Linked DNA regions of Homo sapiens: region 1 is linked to region 2. Evidence: promoter capture Hi-C in human tissues and cell types (Jung and others, 2019). All regions are on one chromosome and are shown on one strand. The core of a region is centred on a gene start or on the middle of the fragment in contact, and the rest is flanking DNA. Distances in the headings are between cores, read along the strand shown. Region 1 holds the start of LOC101928735 (a long non-coding RNA gene). Region 2 holds the start of PTHLH (parathyroid hormone like hormone).

Region 1 (2,895 bases), core at 309-2,808, 1.1 Mb after region 2:
AGTGCATTGGACAAGGATGATGAGTACTGTGCTTCTGGCAACTTCAGAGATAAGTATGCAACCAACAAATCCAGTCTGGCTGAGATTAACCCACGCTGTACACTAAGAGTCAGAAATCTTTTTCTGTAAGAGGCTAGATAGTAAATATTTTCTTTTATGTTTTTGGCCATAGGGTCTGTGTTGAAAATACTAAACTCTGCTTTAGCAGCATGCAATCAGCCATAGACAATGCATAAGTGAAGGGTCATGGCTGTGTTTCAGTAAGATTTTATGTATAAAATTAGGCAATGAATCATATTTGGCCCACAACTTCTAATAGTCCAATCCCTGCTACACACCATTGCTTCTCCTTATATCTGTACCTTCTCCAAATCCAGCACTGGTGAGCATCCTAGTAACTGTAATGCTGCAACACAGTTATGACCACCCTGGAGTTTATCACCTCTCTACTCATACCAGCAATGCCATCCTTACTTCTTCTAACTGGTTAGTATACCAGTTCTACAATCCAATTCTGAGAATTGGCTTCTAAGGACCACTTGTATGCCAACTGTCTTAGTTTGGGTTCTCTGAAAGCAGTGGATAGGACAAGGACATGGGTGAGGATATTTTATTATATTTGGGATATAATCCCAGGACACAGGAGTGAAGTAATGAAAGGAGTGAAACAAGGAAGGAAGAGAGGAAAATATAAGGAAACATCAAAATATCTGCTGTGGACAATGAGAACCTCAAGAAAAGCATGCAAAATATTTCCTAGAATTATAACTTAACAGTCCAAAGAATGGAAGCCTGTAGTCCTTATACACTGGCTCTCATCCTATTTATGGATGGTTATTTACTACCCTGAAATTCTAGACTGAATTTGCGCATGGGCTAAGCAGGATCTTCCAGGCTTCTGCAGAGTGTGAGATAGCCCTAGAACAGAAAGTGAAAAGATGCACGGTGCACCTGTCAGTACAAGGTGATTCTAAGGTTGCGCTGAACTATCATCACAGTTATGGCTGAAATCAGAGGTGGGCCAGGGGAAATTACTCAGGGCGTTAGAGGTAACAGTAAAACAGTGAGGGAGCACATAGAGGAAAATGTATTTTAGTACTAAGAAAGAATCATCCAAATAAACAGAAGCTTCAAAGTACTGAGAAGAGGAGTGGGGTGGCCTCATGCACAGAGTCGAAAAGCCACCGTACACTGGACAGGGGGCCCAAACTAAAACCAAGTGTCCAAGTGTCTGTTTTTTACTGCCCATCTTACATCCAGTTGTGTGGTCTGAAGTTTTCAGTCACTTTAAGACAAAGTAGATTCAGAGCAGCTCCTCCCTCTGAGTTCAAAATGAGGAGTGCCCTATTATTCTCTCCCCGGTCTCCATGGAGACATAAATGCCCAAGTAACTGATGCTACTACCTGGAGGGACTCACCTTTACCAACACCAAGGGAGCCAGCCCTGAGAGTTCATGCCAAGTCATCTTTCTCCTGCTTTGTTCCCTGGAACTGATAAACTGCTGCTTCGAAAAACCAGAAGGCCTTGCCTCTATTTTGTTTTCAGTTCTACTCCCTAAGAGCCTCAGCATAAATATGAGAGGAGATAAAGGGAAAGTTAAGAAACTTCTGTTAGCATTCTGATGTTCAAACCCAAGGTAAAATTTTAAAAATTAACCAGGTGTGGCAGCATGCACCTGTGGTCTCGGATATATTGGAGGCTGAGGCAGGAGGATCACTTGAGCCCAGGAGTTGAGTCTGCAGTGAGTCAGGTTTGCTCTCCTGCAAAACATAGCCTGGGTGACAGAGCAAGACCCTGTCTCAAAACAACAACAACAACAACAAAAAATCAAACTAAATCAACAAACAAACAAAAATCATTAAGAATAAGATCCTTAGTACAATTCAATGTTTTAAAAATAAAAAATTTATATATTTAACAAATCTGTTCAAAAATTAAGTAAATTGTTACATAGTTAACATAAACTGTTATACACTCATATGTTAACATGCACATGTTACTCATATACATATGTATATACTTATACACTTATATGTTAACACATTACATACTATTCAACTCATAACTCATATTTTAAAATTATCTAAGGACATTAAAAATTATCATATTATAAAGTCAAGTGTAAAAAATGCACAAACATTATCAGTGAGTTTTCAGTTTATATGAGTAAGGTGGTGTATTTTCTTTTCACTGCAGTCTTGATCTTCCTGTTGAGGGCCATCCAAGAGCACCATGATGAAGTGGAAAGAGATTGTTCACAAGAATGATCACTTACAGAAGACTGAGCCCAAGGCCCTTGCTGATGGATTCCCAGACTTATATGCATCCGAGATTGAAGAACTTAAACATCTTGCCCTTGCCATGACCACAAATCAGAGGTAAAGTTCAAACAATGCCTCAGATGTCTCAGAACCAAGCACTTCTGAAGTGTCTGCTGAGCTTAGCAGAGTTTCTGCTGCAGAATGGGTGACAGTATAGGGGCATAAAAGTTTGTTCTAAAAACAGTGGGAAAACGGAGGAACTGTTCTATATATAGAAACAGGAGTAATAAAAGTCTTTCATAGCATAAGAATGCAACTAGCAGTGACTAATGTCTTGTGGTTCTTTCTAGAGTAATAAAATTTAATGTCCATGGACTTTGACCTTCAAAAGACCAAAGACAGGCTGTTTCAAGAACGCGGTCTTGAACAATTTGTTGACATCTTCACAAAAGAAAAATAATTCTCTAAATCAGTAACTGAGTCTCCGGAAGGTAAGGAATCCTGATTTCATGAAATAAGGACAGCATCACAGATCTAAGGGGAAACAAAGCCTGAAAAAGAGGAAGAAAGGAAAAGACTATTCGTAAGCTTTCAAAGGAGATTGGATGGAAATTCTGTAATTAGAAGGTTACC
Region 2 (2,857 bases), core at 163-2,662:
AATTACTGGGTAGTATCATCTAGGAAAGGATTGCAGCGGGAGTGGATACCCTCCCCAGGGCTCCTCTAACTTTTTGAAAAGAGCGCGAGTGGACTGGGAACCATTCAAGGGATATTTGTCTTCTAGGCAATCCTGCTGGTAGGGTTCATTAGTTTCTAGAAGGCTAGTGTGATTTAGATTCTTGAGATGATTCAAGGAATGTGGCCTTTATCAAGCCCGACTTTCCGGGTGATGCTCCACATATTTTACCCAGGGTGGGAGAAATAGCACGCTGTCACCGAGACCCTCGCTCATCGGGGCTCCCACTGGTTCACTGCAGCTAGCTAGCAGTTAAAGTTTACTGCTTAGGTTGGGTGGGGGGGCATATTTTCTTAGAAGCTCCTGCCTTCCTCAGTTCATTACTGTAAACCCCGTACCTTAAAAGACTCGGCTTCTTCTCACTAACAAAGAAAAAAAGCAAAACAAAACCAAAACACACACACGCACACACACACACTCTCTCTCTGGGAATTTCCACAACTTCCCTTGAATGTGTAAGGATTTCTAAATGTTAGACTTGTTTGGATAGTATGAAAGGACAAAGTATCAGCACTCAGAAATGTCAACCTTTGAACCTCGAACACTTTCTGATTTATAAAAAGAATCCTTCCAAAAAGATGCAGGAGCCCTAATGTAATCGTTAGATCTGAAGGGGGAAATCTGTAAAAAAAAAAAAAAAAAAAAAAAAAAAGTCAATCACAAATGAGCCATTTAATACTTGCAAGTTGTTTAACATTGAAATGATAATATTTGCTTCCACAATAAAAAGTCCAAGGTACCTAGCCAAGTTTCAAACTATCCAGGCTTTAAAAAGTCAACCCTTCTCCCAATAGAAGGTTAAAACAAAAATCAGATTGAAATTATCAAATCACTTATGTTGTAAATAAATTCACTTTACTTTCAGAACATTATAAATTAAGGACTGGCATCAATAGACTGCTTTGATTTATGTTGCTTTTTCTACTAATTAAACAAAATTAACCCCCCACTCCTTCCCTCCTTTCTTTTTCCCCACACACTTTTCTGGTGTTAATGGCAAAACATCTATCAAATATTTTTAGAATTTCCTCTCCTCCACAAAAAGAGAAAATATAGACACAGGAAAAATAAATAGTCTTTATATACTCGGAATACCAAAGTTCCCTCCTAATTTATTACTTCACCTTTTCCTTGATTTACAATCTTCTCTCTGCTCTTCTGGCTGAAAGAGGGAAATCTTCTCAGCAGTCTTTTCCAGAAATATTTTTTGTTGTTCTTCAGAAAACATAAAATTAAATCTTAAAATGAATTAAAAGCTTCTTGAAAGGAGACTTCTGTTCCCACTAAAGGCAATTATTAGAAAGCAGGTACCTCTTCCAAGCTGCCCTGTTTATTACTTTCCGTAGAAATTCTCCTCAATATATACCCAGGACCCTGACTTTTTGCCTGTTTTGGAAAGGATATTTTCTGACATCATAATCTAGTTCCTAACATAACTGAGTAATCTCCATCATAATAATGCAGAGGATGCATGACTGCAAATGAGACACAGCAAGAGCACCCCCTACCACCTCCCTCCCCCCCCCGTCCCCCCAGCCCACACACACACCTTTTTTCTAAGGTTTAGAAATAGAACAAGTGCCAATAGAAGCTAAATGTTTGCTTAGGCCTTGCTGTCATGTAAATGCACCTTAGCAAATGGGAAGGCCTGCCTCTAATCTGAAGTATTTCCATGTTTAGCATTATAAGATCTACACCTACACAAATGCCTAGCCCATGAGCACCAGGCTTCCATCTTCCCATCCCCAGTGGCAGTTTATTACAGTATATCAAATTTTAAAAGAGGTTGAAAAAATTTTAAATGCATTACTCTTAAATTCAGTTGAATACCCAGTTAATGTATATCTCCTGTCATAGCTTAGAAAAAAGTAAATAGCATTTATGCTTAGCCTCTTCATCCTTCTTTCTTCTTTCCTCCTTAACCCAAACAGCAAACAGATATACATTATAAACCAAATATGAATCTATAGCACTTTAAACAGTGCACCTGGGCTTGGGAATTCTCTTATTACCAATAAGCATCCAGATTTCACATTTACCAATCTGTAGCTGCAAGCTATGTCTCTAAAATCCCCTGGAACCAAACAACTAAACTCATCCCATCTCTTCTCCAAACTTTTTTCAATGTTTACAAAGAGACGTTGCATAATCAGCTCAAGTAATGCTCTCATTGGATTCCATTAGAATGTGGCTCTCATCGCTCGCCTGGACTGAGACTTGAGAGGAGGCTGTTGCCAGCTGACCTCAAGGTAGCAAAAAAGAAAAAAAGATGTAATGCCTTCAAACCCCAAGTAACAATAGGAAAGGGTGTGTTTCTTTATTAAATCTTTTTGTAGTTAGGTGAGGATAAGACTTCTCCAGGAACAGGGCGGGCTGCTAACCTCTGGAGGAACTGCCTCAGGGAGGAGTGTATAGATATGCATCAAGCTGATGGGATCCTCCCATGGGAAAAGTGGGCCTCACACCCTTCCTCACCCTTCCCTACTTCCTGGGCAATGTTCTGCTTCCCCCAAACTGAAGCAGGAGGCCCAGAGAGGAGGCGGTTTCCTGGGAGGAACCCAAACCAATGTGAGATGAGAAGGTCTTTAGGAAATGGGGGTCTCTGAGAACCGGTTCTTAAAGGTCAAGCACTTGAGCACCTCGCAAACTCCTGACAATTGAAACATATCTGAAGAGTCTTCTTCAGATATGTCTCTGTGTGTGTGTGTGTGTGTGTGTGTGTGTGTGTGTGAGAGAGAGAGAGAGAGAGAGAGAGAGAGAATATGAATGTGCAGTGTCC

The links. Contacts are between HindIII fragments. The study calls those that stand out against the background at their distance.
Region 1: a fragment that was not itself captured here is called in contact with the fragment with the promoter of PTHLH in region 2 in 1 of the 25 tissues and cell types used here (lymphoblastoid cells).

Annotation. Positions count from the first base shown.
Region 1 is chr12:29,039,256-29,042,150 of GRCh38, forward strand. LOC101928735 (a long non-coding RNA gene) reads left to right here and starts at 1,361. Exons shown (of 5, transcript XR_242930.3): 1 at 1,361-1,637; 2 at 2,198-2,379; 3 at 2,613-2,753. RefSeq lists a silencer at 1-47 and an enhancer at 2,137-2,895. The HindIII fragment of the contact is 5,013 bases long and covers 1-2,895 here.
Region 2 is chr12:27,971,321-27,974,177 of GRCh38, forward strand. PTHLH (parathyroid hormone like hormone) reads right to left here and starts at 1,413. Exons shown (of 6, transcript NM_198965.2): 1 at 1,203-1,413; 2 at 607-699. The HindIII fragment of the contact is 6,422 bases long and covers 1-2,857 here.